Regions from separate parts of the Homo sapiens genome. Here all the other regions are linked to region 1. Evidence: promoter capture Hi-C in 16 types of primary human blood cells and fetal thymus (Javierre and others, 2016). All regions are on one chromosome and are shown on one strand. Each heading gives the region's core, a stretch centred on a gene start or on the middle of the fragment in contact. The rest is flanking DNA. Distances are from core to core; before and after follow the strand shown. Region 1 holds the start of BMP6 (bone morphogenetic protein 6). Region 2 overlaps BMP6 (bone morphogenetic protein 6). Region 3 overlaps BLOC1S5-TXNDC5 (BLOC1S5-TXNDC5 readthrough (NMD candidate)). Region 4 overlaps BLOC1S5-TXNDC5 (BLOC1S5-TXNDC5 readthrough (NMD candidate)). Region 5 overlaps TXNDC5 (thioredoxin domain containing 5). Region 6 overlaps BLOC1S5-TXNDC5 (BLOC1S5-TXNDC5 readthrough (NMD candidate)). Region 7 overlaps BMP6 (bone morphogenetic protein 6).

Region 1 (2,700 bases), core at 31-2,530:
GTTGTACAGATCCAGCATGAAGAGGGGCGCGGACTTCAGTCGCCCGGGAGGGGGCTCTCCGCGAGGCAGCTGCTGCTGCTGCTGCTGCTCCTCCTGCTGCCGGAGCGCCGGGGGCTGCGGCTGTTGGAGGCCGTGCAGGGGCCGGGGCCGGTGCGGGAGCCCCAGCACCGACAAGATCTCCTTCTGCATCTCCCGCTTCTCCTGCGTCTTGAGCCGCCGGTACAGGAAGCCCGAGGAGGACTGCGGCGACGGCGGCGGCTGCTCCGTGCGGCCGGGGCTCCCGCCGTCCCCCAGCAGCTGCCCCCCGGCGGCGGCGGCCGCGGCAGCGGGCAAGGGCGGCCGCAGCGGCGGGGGCCCGCAGCAGCTGCACAGCAGCCCCCACCACCAGCACAGCCACTGCGCCCTCCGCCCCAGCCCCGGCATCCCCGCCCGGCCGGGCTGCCCCCGCGGATCCCGCGAGGCGTGGAGCGGCGGAGCGAGGCCGGAGCGCGGCCGCTGTGGCCCTTGGCGTGAGCAGTCCCCGCCACCTCTCGGCGGGCTCGCTTCCCCTTCCTGGCCCTCAGTCCTTATCTCTCATGGTCGTCCGGGGCGCCCCCAGTTGCCCAGGCTAGAGAGGTGGCGAAGGGGCGATCACCAGGAGAACCGCTTGGAGGGGAGGAAGGGGAGCCTCACAGCCTCGCGCAGGTCTCTAGAGGCGCGCGGTCCAGGCCAGGTGCGTCTGAGTCCGGGCTGCACTGCAGCCTGCGCCCTGGCTCCTGCGAGTCGCGGCGCGGTCACTCTGGGCCTCGCTGGCCGCACACGTGCGCTGCCCCGCGCTCTCCCTGGCGACTGAGTGGGACCCGGGGCAGCGGGGAGCGGGGCCGCTCACGAGCTGCGGGAGATGCCCGGCATCACCGTGGCGCACGCCCCTCCCCAGATCGCAGGGCCACCATGAAGTTTACCCCGTTGCAGGGCCCAGGCTGCGGCGACAAGGCGTCCCGAAATGCCAGTCTATTCCGCGAGGTTTAACTTCCTTCTCGCTCACGAACTCCGCGCCCCTGAGCTCTCGGGCACCGTCGCTCCCACTCAAAATCTCCGCGCGCCGCACGCCTCCTCAAGCGGAGGCGGCGAGGATCTTGCTTTCCGTTCGGCGGTCGCCCGGCTGCCCAGCAAACCCGCTCGCAGAAAGGATGGGAAGGAAGGGGGCTAGTGCACCGAGCAGCGGCCGCGGCGGCGGCGCCGGAATTCGGTCTCCCGCCTCTCCACGCCGCGCTCCCCGCAGCGGCCAACGTGGGCTTTCTGCTGCGCGCCCGGCTCAGGTACCTCACTCCAGCCCCGGGACTCCCCGCCCCGCGGTAACCGACAGGCTGGCAGCCAATGGGGACGCGAAGCTCGCGGGCTATTTAAATAGCCCCGCCCCTTCTTTCACCCTCCCTCTCCCGAGAGGCGTCGCCTCCGCCGCGCGTAGGTTTCAAGACCCGGGAATTCTTGGAGGCATGCGAAGAGCCGCGAGGTGCCAAAGGCGAAGAGGTCATCGCTAGTAAGAATGATCTGACCAATACCCCGATCTGAAGCTTTCTCTTTTACCATCATTTAAAAGGCCTAAGTTGATGCTTTAACTAAATAAAAATAATAACAGCGATTAAATCACTATACTGCCAGAACTGAGGAAGAAAAGAAAAATGATAGCTTTTCCATCCCTTCCTTAGTTTCTCTTATTGATGTAATGTAGGCGTTTAGCGGACACGTGGCTTTCCACGGCAGCTGCTGGAAGTTGGGACACACCCTCCGGGGAGGCTACTCACAAACTGACCACAGAGAGGGCCACATGTAACCCAAGCCAGCGTCCTGAGGGTTTGGGGTCGGATGTGTTGACTTCTCTGTTCATTTGTGCTTTGGTTTGGCTTCTTAAGCTAGCACCCAAAAGAAAGAGGGTGTAATCAGACGATATATTAGAAAAGGCGTCCCCTGTCTTCTTGGAAATGTCTTGATTCTCCAGCTTATCTATTAATGTTGCATTTTAATATTGAAATACAATGTGACTTATATGGTGCAAGATAAAACTTGAGGAGAGGTGATAAAGATAACTCCAGGAAGAGCAGGGGCTTGGCATGCATTCTGAATGGTCAGGACAATAGACAGGGTCCTGAAACACAGGTTCCTGTGGATTTTAGACAAGATAACACCACCACCAACACCATTTGCCAATGAGGACACAAATTCATTTGCCTTTACCCCGCCCGAGAACATCCAGTCATCTATGGATCGTAGAAGCAAATTCACGTAAAACATGAAGGTTTTTTACTTGGTGAAAATTGTGTGGAGTTGAAAATAAAAACTGCAATTTTCTGACTTGCCAGCCTTAGTCCAAATGGTCCTAGGCATTTGAGAGTGAAGTCAAATAGATTATAGACTGTGGGATTCATGAATTTATGAGATCATAGGCTTTCTGTTGGTCCAAATCTTATAAGCATTCCTATCCTATTTCCAAGAATCTATTTCTCATGGGTAAATAGAGACCACCACTGACTCCAACTACCCACTGAGTCCTTCTTTCTAGTTCTGCCTTGGCCCAGACACAAGTGGTCATTTAGAAGAGTCTTTATTTCTACAAATATCTGATAGCTATGAATTTCAGGGCACAAAACTTATGTGAATGCCAGTCTTTAACCATCTCTACAGGGATTTCTTCCATCCGAAAAGATAATACGATACTTTGTC
Region 2 (2,700 bases), core at 3-2,502, 130 kb before region 1:
AATGTTTCCTCAGGGATACATGGCCTTCCTAGTCTGCGGACTGTAAAAGTGTAGCCTCGAAGAAGATGCATCTGATTTTGCCACGTGAAAAATAAGCTTTCCCTTCTAAATCTCACTTTGGCAGAGTTCAGAAGAGATGTTCTCACCTAAAATGTGTGTCACTGATAAAGAATCCTAGAGACTGGCCAAAATCATCACCATGCCTAGATTACTTGGACCTTCCTATTGAGGTGACATACTCTCAAGGTGGCAAACCACGAAAGAAAATCTTGAAACAAGGGAAGATAATTTTTAATGCAGTTATTGACTATTTTGTTCTCAACTAACTCAGACCCTACATTTGCATGATGAATACGCTTCCAATCTTCAAGGATGTAACAGTGTTACTCTTCTCAATGTTATTCCAACCTCAGAGCGTGATATTCCTCACATTGTGGTCATCCTGGGCAAATGAGGTTCTTAACAAATTAATATGCTAGTAAGATATTTCTGGAAAATTTCAAAAATTCACCCTGGCTTTAGAGTTGATGAATCAGAAAGCCACTCATAAAGACTAGTAGAATTGGTGTTTGTGGGCAAGATTTATCCCTGCATATCCCTCCCATCACACAGCCTCCAAGGCACATGCTCACATCAGTGATACACCACTGGGCTGACAGAGAGCACCATTGCCAAAATACAGCAGGCCTTTCTCTCCTTTGCCCTCGGACAAGGGCAGGAGGTGCCTGAGCTCCTGGTGGACAGGCTTCGACCCTTTCCTGACAAACCACACACCCATCAAGGTCACAATGCCGGGGTCAAAGTACAACAGTGTTTACTACTAACCATTTTGATAGAAAAATGCTCTTGAGGCCGGGCGCGGTGGCTCACGCCTGTAATCCCAGCACTTTGGGAGGCCGAGGCGGGCGGATCACGAGGTCAGGAGATCGAGACCATCCCGGCTAAAACGGTGAAACCCCATCTCTACTAAAAATACAAAAAATTAGCCGGGCGTAGTGGCGGGCGCCTGTAGTCCCAGCTACTTGGGAGGCTGAGGCAGGAGAATGGCGTGAACCCGGGAGGCGGAGCTTGCAGTGAGCCGAGATCCCGCCACTGCACTCCAGCCTGGGCGACAGAGCGAGACTCCGTCTCAAAAAAAAAAAAAAAAAAATGCTCTTGATAAACTGGCATTTATATATTCAAAGTAAGCAGATTTATGAAATACTCAGTAAGGTGATTCTGTGGTCTTGTTCTTTATTTCTCCATAACACATTCCTTTGCATTTGTACGTCTGGACTTGATGTTACATTAAAATACAAAACAACATTCATACATGGAGGAACTGACTTTCTGCAATAAGAAAAATTCATTTTTCAAATAGAATGAAAGTAAAAAAAATCCATTTTCATTTTAGAAAATTAAGGAGTCAAGCTCATGCTTTTTACTTTTTCCTTACGTAAAGTACAGTATAGATTATGTTTAAACTTTTACCATTAGAAAGATAGAAAAGGCATCATATATTTGAAAATAAAGTACTACAAAAAAGAGTAAACTGCTGCATACATGTACACATACAAATTTGAGTAACAAAGATGAATGAACATTATTTGGCTACACTTGCATTTTTTTTTTTTTTTTTTTTTTTTACAGTCTTTGATATTACTCAATTTTCACCCAATGGCTAGCATGGTATGAAGAGACGTTTCAAATATCAAATGCACCTTGATTCTGTAGGGGCTATTTCGTCTTTAAAAAACCAATATAAATCACTTTGCTGTTAGAATATTAACATAGCAAACCTTAACATGGTGTTTACTATGCGACTGTTCTAGGTACTCTCACATATATTAATGCCTCACAACAACCGTAAGAGGTAAATACTATTAATGCTGTTACAGGTTTATAGATGAAGAAACTGAGGCACAAAGAGATTAAGTGGGCAGGGCATGGTGGCTCACACCTGTAATCCCAGCACCGTGGGAGGCTGAGGCAGGTAGATCACTTGAGCCCAGGGGTTCGAGACCAGACTGGGCAACATGGCAAAACCCTGCCTCTACAAAAAATAAAAAATTTAGCTGGGCATGGGCTGAGGTGGGAGGATCTCTTGAGCCTGGGAGGTGCAGGTTGCAGTGAGCTGAGATTGTGCCACTGCACCCCAGCCTGAGCGACAGAGCACAACTCATCTCAAAAAAAAAAAAAAAAAAAAAAAAAAAGAGAGAGAGAGAGAGATTGAGATTAAGTGGCTTGCACATGGTCACACAGCCAGCAAGGGCAGAGCTGGAATTTGAACCCAGGCAGTTTGGCTCATGTGTTGTACGTGCTCTTTTATCAGTGGTTCTCAAGTGTAGCCTGCATCAGAATCCCCTGCGGGGGCTTAACACATGGATTGCTGCCCCTCACCCCTAGGGCTTCTGACTCAGTAAGCTTGGGGAGGGGCCTGAGAATCTGCATTTCTAACAGGTTCCCACGTGATGCTGATGCTGCTGGTCTAAGAACCATACTTTGTGAGCCAAGGACCTAAAGCCAGACTACCTCTCCATGAAATATGAGCAGGACTACCTGTGCCTGTTTTGTGAACTTAGAGTTGAAAGCTATCTGCTCTCAAGATTTCTTGCTCCTCTCCCTAAAACAGTGCAAACCAAATGTAGGCTGCTCCACAAGTCAGTGTGTCTTATGGATGGGCATGACCCTCAGGGTGTCATCGAATTAGGCTAATAAACA
Region 3 (2,774 bases), core at 153-2,652, 190 kb before region 1:
CCGATGACTTCCCTTCTCATTCGTAAAAGCCAGTGTTCTCATTCTGTACTGCCTTCTTATTCATTCGCTCTAAGTCCTTTGCAGTTGCTGATCCCTCGGCTGGAACCAGATATTCACATGTGTTACTCCCTCACGTCTTTACTTGAAAGCCATGTCCCCAATAAGCCTATCCAAACCCTGACATCCCATCTGAACCTTGACACTTCATACCCCCTTCCTTGCCTTGTTTTCTTCTGGGCTTCTACCACTGGCTAACATAGTGTTTATCTTCTATATCTTACGTATTGGCTGTTTCCCCACCTACAATGGAAGTTCATTAGGACTAGGGTTTTTGTCTATTTCAGTTGTTGCTGATCCTCAGCACCTAAAAACGTGCCTGACACAGACTAGATCCAATAAATATTTGTTGAGTGAATTCTCTTGCAATTAAATGCACACAATGGAAGAGGAGATGTTGCAGCTATAATAAGCAAAGGAAACCAGACATTGATCCTTCCATGTGAAATACGACCCAAGCTTCTATATATAATACTTCACAGAGTGTTCTGCAGAGGATTAACAACACAAGAGACACCACAAATAAAAAGGAGTCCACAATCAAATAAGTTGGGAAATACTGCATAGGATACTTTTAGGAATTCAGATGGTGCAATCGCAAATAAAAATCTCTGATAAATCATTTAGGAAATAGGTTTCTATCTTTTTCTTTCTTCTTCCATTAGCACTTCATCCAGCCAATTCTTAAGTAGTCTTCAAGGCACAGTGTGTTGGCCAGGTGTGGTGGCTCATGCCTGTAATCTCAGCACTTTGGGAGGCTGAGGTGTGCAGATCACCTGAGGCCAAGAGTTTGAGGCCAGCCTGGCCAACATGGTGAAATCCTGTCTCTACTAAAAATACAAAAATTAGCTTGGTGTGGTGGTGGGCGCCTGTAATCCCAGCTATTTCAATGGCTGAGGCATGAGAATCGCTTGCATCCAGGAGACAGAAGTTGCAGTGAGTCAAGGTTGCACCACTGCACTCCAGCCTGAGAAATAGAGTGAAATTCTGTCTCCAAAAAAAAAAAAAAAAAAGGACTCAATGTATCAACAGTTGACATTCTTTCAGGCTGCCCAGCTTCACTGGACACCTTTCCTGCATTTGTGGAGCCTCTGACCTAACCGCCACAAGTTAGGATAGAGCATAGACCATTGAGCCCTACTGCAGTGAGGCTTCCATTGGAAGCTAGTTTTGCGAAGAAGCAGGGGTCATGCAAAGTCCATCCTGCAGGGCAGCGGTTGCAGAGGTTCCCATGGTCACATATAGTGTCCTGTACCAGAGGTGGGATAGGAGGAATCTGCATGTCGAGGTGGTAGCAGTGGTGGCAGTATTGTGATCTAATTTGAGCAGTATTGTGATCTAATTTGAGCAGTATTGTGGTCTAATTTGGGCATTGTTCCTGGCTTCTCTATCTCCTAACCCTAACCCTAACCAAGTGTTCCTCAAACATGTCTCAGTCAGAGCTCTTCTCTTAAGAAAACACCTATTAACTTCCAGCAAACATCAGCGTTCCTTTGGTGGTCTGCTCCACATCTGTGCTCTCAGAGCCCTGCTACAGTCCGCCACAGGCGCACCAGGGACTGAGATCCTGGCTGTGTCTCCTCTAATCCCAGGAATTCTCAACCCTAGGAAGTAGGACAAAGCCATCAGTATTGCTTTCAAGACCTAGATGATTGCAATGTGCAGCCAGAATTGAGAACCCCCAGGTAGGATAAACATTTTCCTGGATTCTGAACTTGGAATAGTGTTCTGAAATTCAGGCAGCTATGAAGAGCTGGCCCCTAAGTGCTGTGAGAGGCATGTCCCCATGCCCGTGTGGAATGCCACAGATCCAAGGCCAAGGCCATCACTGCAGGCCAGCGCAGCTGAGAGAGGAGTGGAACAACTCAGTGAGCAACCTGCATCAGGGAGAAGTCTTCTCTCCTGTTATGAAGTCCAGGTGCTGGTGAGCATCAGCTTCTGGATCAGCCTATCGGCCCCGCACCTGGGGACTCTGGGAAAAATAAGAACTCCTGTAATAGCATCTAGCAGACAAAGAGCTGGGAGAATGACAGGGGCATGAACGAGAAGAGCCAGCACTTGCACAGACTGAATGAGCTCCTGGGAGCTGGAGTGAGTGTTCTGTGCACTTTGAGAAACAGCACAGATCATTCAGCTTAGTGGTCATGATCCAGTCAACAAAGAAACTCTCTTTATTCTCCTCCCCCCTACCCCCGAGACCTCACAGATCCCACATGGATTTTGAAAGCTTTTATCTGCCAAATACCCGAATCTGTTATGTTATAATGTAATGTGGGTTTTTGGTGCTTATTAATTGTTTAGTAGGCTGTGTTGCCCAAGGAGCTTGTGAGAGTAGTGAGTAAATATGACCTTTCCATTAACCATTTCAATACACTGAAAACAGCTCTACTCCCTGTGTGACTCCAGCCTGGGAATTCACTTTGGTCTTTTTCTTTAGATTTTCTCTGATGAGAGCAATCCTCTAGCTTTTTCTCCACCTCTCAACAATCACATTTGAATGGTCACATGAGCTCATCAAGAAAAACACAGTTTTTCTTCTTCTTTAGAGGCACCTACCAAGGTGTTCTGACCAAATTAGAACAACAGGATGTAAATGCTTTCAGTACCTCCTAAAAGCAGTACTGTTCGCCCAATAATAACTCAGGATGCACCTGTTAAAGTGGTTCAAATGGTGGCATTTCAGTTTCTGAATGTCCTGGGGTTGTCTTGACAATGTT
Region 4 (2,848 bases), core at 43-2,542, 210 kb before region 1:
AGGGTGTAGGGCACTTCTTAAAGTCCTTATGAGGTCCTCATTATTGTGTCTATTTTGCAGACAAAAAACTTTGCCAGCAAGTCTTTGGCAGAGACAGCCCTGTAACTCAGAAATTCCAGACTCCAGCCTCAGTGACACAGATGTGAGCAGTGGTAGCTGCTACCACTGCCGACGAGTAGCTCTTTCTGGTGGGGTCCCTGGAGCTGCTCGGCTGAACATAGCAACACAACACACCTCAGAACCCCACGACTCTTCCTTTGATACAAAAGGGAGGTTGCTGCTGTGGGTGTCAGGGTTTGGCTGGAGCAACAAAAATCACATTTATGTTTATGAAAAATTGCAGAGAGTTTTTTTAATTGAGCAGAAAAATTATACTTACATCACTGAGGTTTGTCCATCATTAAATGCATGTGGTATATTTTATATTATGTCTGACCTAGGTGTGTGAGGCTGTAGATTCTTCTGTGTTTAAACACTGAGCAAGGAGGCACAACTGAGTAAATACTAGGTATCCAAGACCTGATTTTTTATGAACTTGGCTTCACAGTTCTCCCATTATTAGTAAGTCTGAAGACTTAGGATATTACATTGATTTTGTTACCTGAATGCAATCAGTTGTTAAAGTTTCTTAACCTTTTATGTTTACACATATGGATTAAAAAGAGAAGATAAAGAAGATAACAAAGACATAGCCACAGGAGATGAAATATGGAATAAAGGCTGGGTGCGGTGGCTCATACCTGTAATCCTAGGACTTCAGGAGACCAGTGGCGGATCATCTGAGGTCAGGAGTTTGAGACCAGCCTGGCCAGCTGATGGAAATCTGTCTCTACTAAAAATACAAAAATTAGTTGGGCGTGGTGGTGGGCACCTGGAATACCAGCTATTTGGGAGGCTAAGGCAGGAGAATCACTTGAACCCAGGAGGCAGAGGTTGCAGTGAGCCGAGACTGCACCATTGTACTCTAGCCTGGGCAACAAGAGAGAAACTCTGTCTCAAAAAAAAAAAAAAAGAAAGAAAGAAAGAAAGAAAAAGAAAAAAAGAAATATGGACTAAAATTCTCTAAAAAAAGATTTTTATTTCTATGGAGTTATAACTTCACTAAACAGCAAAGAGAGAAGAAGAGAAAATATACTTGTTAAATTTTTAAAAATATTTTTGTAAGTTTTTCATAAGAGATTCTGTTTATAAGTAACTTTGAAATTAATTTTATTGTCTTTGGTACCAGAAATTTTGACTCAAACAAAGAAAGTTTGGATATGTGCATTAAGTGAAATAGATGTGTTGAGTGATGCAGTATCCTTCGGAAGTAAAAAGGAATAAACTGATGCATCTTTAGACATTTGAATGTCAAGCACTGAGAAGTTGCCTTTTTTCAGAGACAGGTGTTAATTTACTCTGAATTAGTGTACATATAATAAGTGGTAGGATATTTCTAAATCAGCTATTTATTAAATAAAATACAATAGGGACTGTGGAGTCTTTCACTGGTTAGTGAAGGTATTAAAGTTTGCTCAAACTTCTTAATTTAAAGCAAATAAATTTACAAATAGATTAATTGTGAAGGCAGTGTCCAGTTTACAGTCCATATACTCTACAATGCAAAAATAATAAAAATTCTAAATTTTCAGGTTTAGAATGTGCAATTTGGAAGGTTCATATAGTTTAAGAGAAAAGGAAGGGAAAAAAAACCGTTGTAATCACCACACCTAAGATAATTATGCTTTTTTACTTTTTCATTTTGAGACAGAGTCTCATTGTGTCACCCAGGCTGGAGTGCAGTGGCACAATCTTGGCTCACTGCAACCTCCACCCCCCTGGCTCAAGCAATTCCCCTGCCCCAGCCTCCCGAGTAGCTGGGATTACAGGTGCATGCCACCACGCCTGTCTAATTTTTTTGTATTTTTAGTAGAGATGGGGTTTCACTGTGTTGGCCAGACTGGTCTTGAACTCCTGACCTCAGGCAATCCACCTGCCTTGGCCTCCCAAAGTGCTGGGATTACAGGCATGAGCCACCATGCCCGGCCTGCTCTTTCATTTGAAAAAGATGTTCTGGTCTCTCAGGTAAAGATGTTTGGGTTGGGGACACAATTTATTTCTAAACACTAATTCCACAACCAATTCTACATAAATAACCTAAGAAAAGTAAATTTAGCAAAAGCCTCTACTTATACAGAAATCTAAGGAAGAAAATCATTAAAACGGCAGAAAGAAGTCCCACCTTGAGGGATGACACAGCCTCCCGGGAAGTGATGGGCAAAGTTCTGTTCCCTGTGAATCTCTAGGCTTGGAGGGCAGAGTTCTGGAGGAAAGAGTGGGCTGCGAAACTCACCTGGGGCTATGGTCTGAATGTTTGTGTCCCTACCAAATTCATATGTTGAAACCTAATCACCAGTGTGCTGGTATTAGGAGGTGAGTCTTTGGGAGGTGGTGAGATCATGAGGGTGGAGTGCTTGTGAATGGGATTAGTGCCCTTATAATAGAGGCCAGAGAGCTGCCTTCCCCTTTTCACTATGTGAGGACACAGTAAGAAGGCACCATCTGTGAAACAGCAAGAAGACCTCCCTAGAAACTGAATCTACCAGCACCTTGACCTTGGACTTCCCAGCCTCCAAAACTGTGAGCAATAACTTTCTGTTGTTTCTAAGCCACCCAGTCTGGTGGTATTGTTACAGCAGCCCGAATGAACTAAGATACCTGGAAAGCTCCAGGTGAAGGGAGTCTAGGTATGTGGACTGCCAGGATCCCTGTTTTGGGGGTCAATGCAGGAACTCAGAGGTCCAGATGACTGCAATTAGTGAAGAACTGTGGTTCTGTGGCTCTGGGGAGAGGAACTTACGCTTTTCCC
Region 5 (2,700 bases), core at 165-2,664, 170 kb before region 1:
GCTTATAACATCATTTTGTACCATTAATACTCTGTGTCTTAATGCACTTCCCTTACTAAGGCTAATATCAGGAGATTGTAGACTCTTAGAATATTATGTACTAAAAAGGATTTATAATCCTCCCCCTCCCCAGTTGATGTTGGAAGTCTTCACTTTTTTATAAATCATCATGATCATAAACCACTGGTTAAGTGTTCCTTTGTGGGTGGTGCCTTCTGATTAATGCCGAGTGCTCAGGTCCCTGGATGCCGGGTAGACCTGGTGGGTCATGCTGCTGTGTTGGAGAGGGACTGGAAAAACACTCGTGTTCCTACACTGTAGGATCCTGATGAGCTAGGAAGAGCATCTGAAGTCTTTGTAATTTCAATTTCAACAAATACCTAAGACTACCTTCTTGTATCAGCTAAGCGCCCACTGATTTGAAGGTGGTCTGTGGTGGTCCTTTTGGAGCTTTGCCGCTTACTGTTGCCAGTTTCCAGTGTGTCTGTGCGGCTCTTCCGCTCTGCCCCATCTTCTCTGATGACCTAATCAGAAACTTGGCTGCTGATTCAGTGCTTCCATCCCTCACCTGCAAAGACTCTCTCAACTCGGCTGGGTGTGGTGGCTCATGCCTGTAATCCTAGCACTTTGGGAGGCTGAGGCGGGTGGATCACCCAAGGTCAAGAGTTCAAGACCAGCCTGGCCAACATGGTGAAACGTCGTCTCTGCTAAAAATACAAAAATTAGCCAGGTGGTAGGTGCCTGTAATCCCAGCTACTTGGGAGGCTGAGGCAGGAGAATCACTTGAACCCAGGAGGCAGAGGTTGCAGTGAGGCGAGATCATGCCACTGCACTCCAGCCTATGCAACAGAGCAAAAACTATCGTGGAAAAAAAAAAAAAACTCTCTGAACTGTATGGTGGAGACTGTTGGTGTGTGATGTTATGTCGTTGAACCAGAGACTTACCTAACTTTAGCTAAAAGAACCACAGACCTCTCAGGAAATTTGCATCTTTGTCCTGGCAAGAAAGCTGAATGAGCAGGTGTGACTTTCATAGTTTTCAATTGGACATTGTTTCCTTTGTGAAAATATTCTCTTTGTGGGGACACATATATTGGATGGTAGCAAACCAATTTTAAGGAGGAGTTAATAGCCTCAAATAAATTTCACCAAAAAAGCCAGTCTTCTATGATGGCTTTATTCAAGAAACCAGCAGCCAGTATCAGGACGGCAGAAAGACCTCATCTCATGGCCCATTTCCCTTAGTGGAGGTGGCGGCCTCACCTGCAGGTTGGAAAGGGCTGAGAGGCTGCGTCCAGGCTCTGCAAGGGACTTTCTGTCTCCTCAGTGTGGGAGCAGGATGGCCGCGTGTAATCCCCCCATGCCACCCCAGAACCACAGTCACCAACTTGCCATATTTTAGTGTCTCCAGCAATAGCAGGCCCCAGATAATTGCCAGAAACAATGACAATGCGCCTTATTGTGGAAAAGTTTAAGTATATACACTTTATACTGCAAACCAGAATTCTCTTAGCTTTTTAAGTGAAAACTTTAAAAAAAGTTCTTTATCTGTATACCTAAGTAACTTAGTACATACATTTTTTAATATTCACGTGGGATAAATTTAGATTTTTTTAAGTGTTGTGGCAATATTCAAGAAACTCAAAAGACAATTTGTCACTTTGTACATTCTACTGCAATTTTTGTATTTCCATGTTTGCTTCTGTATTTTTTCTTGAACAGTTATACAAACATGTTTCATCTCATTAATGATTTTATATATTTATGTGGTCTTTATGTTGATCATGTCTTATATTATTTTATCATGTGGATTTGCCATAATTCAACTCTAATTCTGTCAGTGGATATTTAGGTTATTTATACCTTTTCCATCATCAGTAATGATGTAGGGAACAAGTTTATCTTTGTAAAGGACTTTCCACCCCCCCTTCTTTTGAGTGATATTTTTAGAATATAGTATTCCCAGACATAAAATTATAAGGCCAAGAATAAAAAAAAAGATCATTTTTATGGCTCTTGATGAATATAGCCAGGTTTCTTAAGCACCATATCAGCTTATGCTGCCACTGTAGGGCAAGACGTGACCTGTTTCTGGGATGCACTGTGGTGTTCCCATGCCGGGGGACTGCTCTGGAGTCTGCCAGGAACCCAGGAAGCAACTAGAGGCCCCGCATGTGCCATAAATGAACACTTCATACTGAAAGGCCCTTGAACATCTCATGGAGAGTGGCACACGGTATTTTATTTCACCTTATGTGCACCCATTGACTGTTCACTTAGCCATTCTTCCCTTGGGCATTGTTTTGTGTGGGTATTTAGCACTTTGAAAGTCTTGACGCGCTGGCAGCAGAAGGGAAACTTTGTGGTTCTTTATGATTCCAGCCCTGCACAGCTTTGAACTGTCAGCACCTTTAAAGCCTTTAACAACTTAGCTTGGATATTCTTTTTAATAGGAATATGAACCCCCAGATAAAAGCTGAGTAATATACACTTAATGTGTCTGCAGCAGAACACTGATTCCATTATCTTTCCCTCATTTCTGGTTACTTTGGTTGGAAGCCACAGCTGTACCTGGTCTGAAAAGTTGAGAAATGTAGGATTGTGACTAGACAGCTGCACACATTGCTGTCTGCTTGGGTCCTGGCAGAAGCATCTTTTGAAAAGCCCCTTTCCCCCTCTTTCTGTATGAGACTTAGTCAT
Region 6 (2,939 bases), core at 3-2,502, 230 kb before region 1:
TTGTCTCTTCAGCATATGAAGCTCTTCTTCATGTCATCATTTAATATACTTGGTGCTAAAATGACTCTCGTGGAGTAACCAAATCAAATCTGTATTCACTACAACAAAACTTTCCAACTTCCCCTGCCATTCTCATGTTTAAGAACCATTTATCTTTTTTTTTTTTTTTTTTGAGACAATGTCTGTCTCTGTCAGTCACTTAGGCTGGAGTGCAGTGGTGCGATCTCGGCTCACTGCATCCTCCGCCTCCCAGGCTCAGGTGATTCTCCTGCCTCAGTCTCCTGAGTAGCTGGGATTACAGGCATCTGCCACCATGCCCAGCTAATTTTTGTATTTTTAGTGGAGACAGAGTTGCGCCATGTTGGCCAGGCTGGTCTCAAACTCCACCCACCTCGGCCTCCCTAAGTGCTGGGATTACAGGCATAAGCCACCATGCCCAGCTCATTTTTCTTATATTGAATATTGACGATGAAACAAAGAGCAACCACTTTTCCTCTCGTGGCCCTACTTGCAGGGCTGGAATCTGTGACACTACTGTGCATCCCTTATTAACGTCCTAGTGGCAAGTACACTGAGGTGTGGCCTGATGGCCCATTCTGTGTCACTATCTCTACTCTCTCCAGGAACTGAGCCATACCCATATACATAAGAGATCCAACACCAGATGTCAAAAAGTCAATGTTTATTTAGGAAAGGAAATATGTCATTGAGTGATTAACTCCTAAAAGCAATGGTTAAACTTTTGAATCATTGGAATTGAGCACCACGTTTCTTCTTTACTTTGTAGTTGAGCTTATTTACTGGGCACTTGGGTTTTCAGTAAGAAAGCCACATGGTCGCTGTCAACATCAAGCGCTTCCTAAGACTAGTCTGTAAAATTAGCCTGGGAAATTACGGAGTTGATAACTTCCTGCTCTGAGAGGAGCTTTTGAACCTTTCCGGGGACCTACCGGGGTAGATTCCACTCAGATGTGAACTCCTGAAGGCAGGAGAAGCCTGTGCACATGGAAGGATGCTAAAATCCACAACTACGTGGCGGTGAATGGTGTAGGCTGCTTATAAGGAATGTTTCACTCAAGGAACATACGGTCCCCAAAACCATTGTCATTTAAAAAGCAGAGGCCGAGCACGGTGGCTTATGCCTGTAATCCTAGCACTTTGGGAGGCTGAGGCAGGTGGATCACCTAAGGTCAGGAGTTGGAGACCAGCCTGGCCAATGTGGCGAAACCCCATCTCTACTAAAAATACAAAAATTAGCCGGGCATGGTGGCCGACGCCTGTAATCCCGGCTACTCGGGAGGCTGAGGCAGGAGAATCGCTTGAACCTGGGGGGCGGAGGTTGCAGTGAGCTGAGATCGCACCATTGCACTCCAGCCTGGGTGACAGAGCGAAACTCCATCTCAAAAAAAAAAAAAACTTTAAAAAATAAAATAAAAAGGAGAGTAAAAAGTGGCCCCATCCTTCTATTGTGGGCAAGTTGCAGGTTATCTCAATGACCTGACACATAGTAGTTCTCAGCCACTGAGGCTGACAGGCACTGGTGAGCTTGCTTGGCTGGTTCAGTTGGTTACAGACTAAGGATTCCCTGTCTGTTTCCTTTCAGGTCAGTTCTCGTGGTTTAGAGGAAACACTCTAACCTGTGGTCACAAGCATTACCTTTGGCCAATTCACCCAAAGCCAAAGCATTTAAACTTCTATTATACAATTATATTCTTGGTTCCATAGAAGGAGACAGTGGTAAACAGCCCATAGAAGCCACTTTCTAAATACTATCCTTTCCCCCCCAGGCTTATTAAGATATGATTGAAAAATAGAAAATTGGCCAGATGGGGTGGCTCACGCCTGTAATCCTAGCACTTTGGGAGGCCGAGGCGGGCAGATCACAAGGTCAGGAGTTCGAGACCAGCCTGGTCAACATGGTGAAACCCCATCTTTACTAAAAATACAAAAATTAGCTGGGCATGGTGGTGCACACCTGTAATCCCAGCTACTCAGGAGGCCCAGGCTGGAGAATCGCTTGAACCCAGGAGGCAGAGGTTACAGTGAGCTGAGCTTGTGCCAGTGCACTCCAGCCTGGGCAACAGAGTGAGACTCCGTCTCAAAAAAAAAAAAAAAAAAAAAGAAAAGAAAATTAAAGTGTAAAACATGGTGTTTTGATGTAAGTATATCTTATGTAATAATTGCCACAAACAAGCTAATTAACATACCCATCACCTGAGATAGTTATTCTCTGTATGTGTGGTGAGAACACTTTAGGTCAGTCTCTTAGTGAATTTCAAGTACACAGTGCAGTATTATTGAGTGTAGTCACCATGCTGCACACTAGAGCTCTAGGACTTACTCATTAACTGGAAGTTCATACCCTTCCGTCAACCTCTCCCCATTTACTCCGCCCTCCCCCAGCCCCTGGAAATGACCTTTCTCTGTTTTCTTAAGTTTGACTTTTTTTAGATTCCACATAAAAGTGATATCTTGCAATATTTGTCTTTCTGTGTCTGGCTTATTTCACTTGGTATATCATCCTCCAAGTTTATCCACGTTATTATAAATGACAGGATTCTTTCCTTTTTTAAGGCTGAATAATATTCCATTACACAGTCTATCCTCTTGGTTTGTCCAACTTACAAGTTTTTTTCTAGAGATAAATGTTTCTTAATGTAGATGAGGGTATTTTAATAGTTACGTAGTAGGAAAATTAGATTGTCTAAAACGTATTTAAGTCTTTGTTAACATATTCATTTGATCAATATAGAGTATTTGTTTGGGACCAAGTTCTTAGAATACAAAAGCCAATAAGAAATAATTCCGGCCCTCAAAAAATTTGTAATGTGATTAATATGCGGTTTAGTTTGTTCAGAAGATACAGACTTTTTTGAGAGGAAAACAGTAATCTGATGCCATATGAAATTCAAATATTCTCACACATTCTACAAGTAAGC
Region 7 (2,700 bases), core at 82-2,581, 150 kb before region 1:
GAATCACCAGCAAGAGCACTGGGGGTGCCCCAATTCACTGAGGCCCACTGGAGCGACTCTTACGTGACATGCCTTCTGCCTGGCACCACGGCCAATAGACGGTAAGTCAGACATGGCTTTCCTCCCTCCAAGAACTCAGTGAATGAAGGGGTGGTGTAAAACAGACACACAAATAACTCCAATACAAACCAGAACATGGATGCTACGGGCAAAGGCCATAGGCAAATATCACACAGGCAAGGGCCATAGGCAAATGTCCCTTCAGAGAAGGGACAGTTCAGAGTGGGAGTGAGAGGAAGAGAGAGGAGTTCTGCTGGAATGGATTTAAGGATGTGTCAAGCAGGGTCGGATGAGATAAAGCTGGAGAAATGAATGGCCTAGGCTGCCAACCACAATGCTTCGGACTTCCCACCAGAGGCACAAAGTGAGCCTTTGCAGGGTTCTGAGCTGCAGAGCAGCATTTCCCGCTGTGATTCGAAAGGATTAATCCATCTGGAGTTGTGTTGGAGAGTTCGAGAAACGACGGAGAGAGAAAAGGCAAGGAGAAGGCTTTAGAGAAAGGTCATCTAATGTGGGATGTCAGTGGGTGTAAGAGCCTAGGTCATTTGCAGGCTATCCCTTCCCTTTTCAACTACATAAGCCAGTAAGTCACCTAATTGTTGAAAGCCTGTTTGAACTTGATTTTCTAACTTCTAACTCCCAGTCTTCCTGGCTCTGAAGCAGGAGAGAGCGTGCAGATTTCATTAATTTTTTTTTTTTTCTTTTGAGACAGAGTCTTGCTCTGTTACCCAGACTGAAGTGCAATGGCACGAGCTCGGCTCACTGCAACCTCTGCCTCCTGGGTTCAAGCGATTCTCCTGCCTCAGTCTCCCGAGTAGCTGGGACTACAGGCGCGAGCCACCATGCCCAGCTAATTTTTTGTATTTTTAGTAGAGATGGGGTTTCAACACATTGGCCAGGCTGGTCTCGAACTACTGACCTTAAGTGATCTGCCCATCTCAGCCTCCCAGAGTGCTGAGATTACAGGTGTGAGCCACCATGCCCCACCAGATTTCATGATTTTTTAAGGAAAAGAGACAGTGACTCAGGCCAGTGGCCTATACTGGGAGAAGAGATGGGGCAACTTTTTTAGGTGGTTTATAATTCTAAATTTATTTATCCTCTCCACCTGCCTATGTTACCCAACAGAACCACCCTGCCTTTAACTTTAAGGACCCCAGAGAAGCCCTGGAGGGAAATTTTCACAATGCAGGACAAGGACTCTCTCAGTAAAAACAATCAACCAACTATCACCATAAGACAGAAACTTCCTACTGAAAAGAACCCCTGAACAAAAATGAATCAGCCACACAAAGTCTCTCAAGAGGATGGCTGGAATGCAAGGGAAGACCCAGAGGACCCCAGAGACTGTGGATAAGAGTCATCTGAACTAAGCTCTAAAGGAAGAATACCAAAACAAAACAAAACAATAACAAAACTAAAAACAAAAACTAGAGGAAAAAAAAGGAAGAATACCTAAAATAATGGAAGGAAGAAAAGAAGGACTAGAAACCTTAAAACAAAATTATGGGGAAAAAACATGAAAAAAGAACAGGTAGATGTAAAAAGAGTCAAATAGAACTTTATAAAAACCATAACCATTGAAAATAACAATGAAATCAGATTAGATATAACTAAAGATCAGATTAAACAGGTTAAACATTAGTTGTCTAATTAACAGATTAAACAGATTACTTAACAGATTAGTTATACATTAAACAGATAATCATCAAATTACACATAACTGAAGACAGAATTAAAGAATTCAACAGTATATTTGAAATCTCTTCAAATATAGCACAGAATCAAATGGCCAAAATACATGACTGTCTCTTTGTAAAGAGACATGGAAGAGAGAATGAAAAGTCCAACAAATTTCTAATAGGAATTTCGGAAGGCAGTAATAGGGAGTAGTAGTATTTGAAGACATAATGACTGGGAATTTTCTACAACTAAAGAAAGGCAAACATCTTTAAGTTGAAAAGGCCCAAAGAGTTCCAAGAGGATCAGATAAATTCTTATCTAGCCACATGTAGTGAAATTATATCAAACACATAAATTCTTAAAAGTAATCCAGAGATAAAAAGAAAATTACTAAGAAACACAAAATGGATAGCAAACTTAACAAAAATACACATTAAAAAATTAAATAATATGAAAATGATGCCATCAAACCTAGAATGCCATACCCAGCTGTAGTGGATATTTACTGCTTTTGCTACCCAGCTTTTGGCAACACTTCGCATGTGGGGGAATGCCTAGATAGGTGGGACTCAGAGCCCCATTTCCCACGACAGATAGCTCCCCTCTTTGTCCCCTAGCATCTGAAGTACGGACTCATGACTTCATCAAAGCCAATCAAATGTCTCCACCCTGCAGTGTATAACCTGAGGGAGTGACTCAAAGGTGACATCAAGAATGGGTAGTACGGCAGCCAGTGTCTAGGGTGATGACCACATTGGAGGGATCCAAAGCACATTGTTCCATGACTAGATCTGAGCCTTGATTTCCTGAATTAAGTCTCCAGCCTTTTTGTTGATTGGGTAAGTTCCCTGGTACGCTTTTCTCTCTCATTACAGTCTGCTTCTACTGCATGCAATCTAGAGCACTGTGATAGTTAATTTTGTGTCAACTTGATTGGACTATGGAATGCCCAAGTAG

What was found. Contacts are between HindIII fragments. The CHiCAGO score rates a contact against its expected background, and 5 or more counts as called.
Region 2: a contact is called between a fragment that was not itself captured here and the fragment with the promoter of BMP6 in region 1, in 1 of 17 cell types (endothelial precursors). The highest score is 8.1, in endothelial precursors.
Region 3: a fragment that was not itself captured here is called in contact with the fragment with the promoter of BMP6 in region 1 in 3 of 17 cell types (megakaryocytes, endothelial precursors and naive B cells); the score reaches 7.2 in megakaryocytes.
Region 4: a fragment that was not itself captured here is called in contact with the fragment with the promoter of BMP6 in region 1 in 5 of 17 cell types (naive B cells, M1 macrophages, endothelial precursors and 2 more); the score reaches 6.0 in naive B cells.
Region 5: a contact is called between a fragment that was not itself captured here and the fragment with the promoter of BMP6 in region 1, in 2 of 17 cell types (endothelial precursors and megakaryocytes). The highest score is 11.2, in endothelial precursors.
Region 6: a fragment that was not itself captured here is called in contact with the fragment with the promoter of BMP6 in region 1 in 7 of 17 cell types (endothelial precursors, megakaryocytes, naive B cells and 4 more); the score reaches 10.9 in endothelial precursors.
Region 7: a fragment that was not itself captured here is called in contact with the fragment with the promoter of BMP6 in region 1 in 1 of 17 cell types (endothelial precursors); the score reaches 9.6 in endothelial precursors.

Annotation. Positions count from the first base shown.
Region 1 is chr6:7,724,679-7,727,378 of GRCh38, reverse strand. It overlaps BMP6 (bone morphogenetic protein 6), which reads right to left and starts at 1,280. Exons shown (of 7, transcript NM_001718.6): 1 at 1-1,280. The coding sequence starts at 423. The HindIII fragment of the contact is 3,909 bases long and covers 1-1,555 here.
Region 2 is chr6:7,855,046-7,857,745 of GRCh38, reverse strand. All of the region lies in intron 2 of BMP6 (bone morphogenetic protein 6), which reads right to left. Among named protein-coding and RNA genes, the nearest start is that of TXNDC5, 54 kb to the left of the region's middle. The HindIII fragment of the contact is 2,307 bases long and covers 99-2,405 here.
Region 3 is chr6:7,917,064-7,919,837 of GRCh38, reverse strand. All of the region lies in intron 4 of BLOC1S5-TXNDC5 (BLOC1S5-TXNDC5 readthrough (NMD candidate)), which reads left to right. Among named protein-coding and RNA genes, the nearest start is that of TXNDC5, 7.7 kb to the right of the region's middle. RefSeq lists an enhancer at 1-278. The HindIII fragment of the contact is 1,768 bases long and covers 519-2,286 here.
Region 4 is chr6:7,934,665-7,937,512 of GRCh38, reverse strand. All of the region lies in intron 4 of BLOC1S5-TXNDC5 (BLOC1S5-TXNDC5 readthrough (NMD candidate)), which reads left to right. Among named protein-coding and RNA genes, the nearest start is that of TXNDC5, 25 kb to the right of the region's middle. The HindIII fragment of the contact is 5,630 bases long and covers 1-2,848 here.
Region 5 is chr6:7,896,245-7,898,944 of GRCh38, reverse strand. The region is part of intron 3 of TXNDC5 (thioredoxin domain containing 5); the gene reads left to right. The region is part of intron 6 of BLOC1S5-TXNDC5 (BLOC1S5-TXNDC5 readthrough (NMD candidate)); the gene reads left to right. Among named protein-coding and RNA genes, the nearest start is that of TXNDC5, 13 kb to the left of the region's middle. The HindIII fragment of the contact is 4,283 bases long and covers 1-2,700 here.
Region 6 is chr6:7,957,319-7,960,257 of GRCh38, reverse strand. All of the region lies in intron 4 of BLOC1S5-TXNDC5 (BLOC1S5-TXNDC5 readthrough (NMD candidate)), which reads left to right. Among named protein-coding and RNA genes, the nearest start is that of TXNDC5, 48 kb to the right of the region's middle. The HindIII fragment of the contact is 3,377 bases long and covers 1-2,939 here.
Region 7 is chr6:7,875,688-7,878,387 of GRCh38, reverse strand. The region is part of intron 4 of BMP6 (bone morphogenetic protein 6); the gene reads right to left. Among named protein-coding and RNA genes, the nearest start is that of TXNDC5, 34 kb to the left of the region's middle. The HindIII fragment of the contact is 4,534 bases long and covers 1-2,700 here.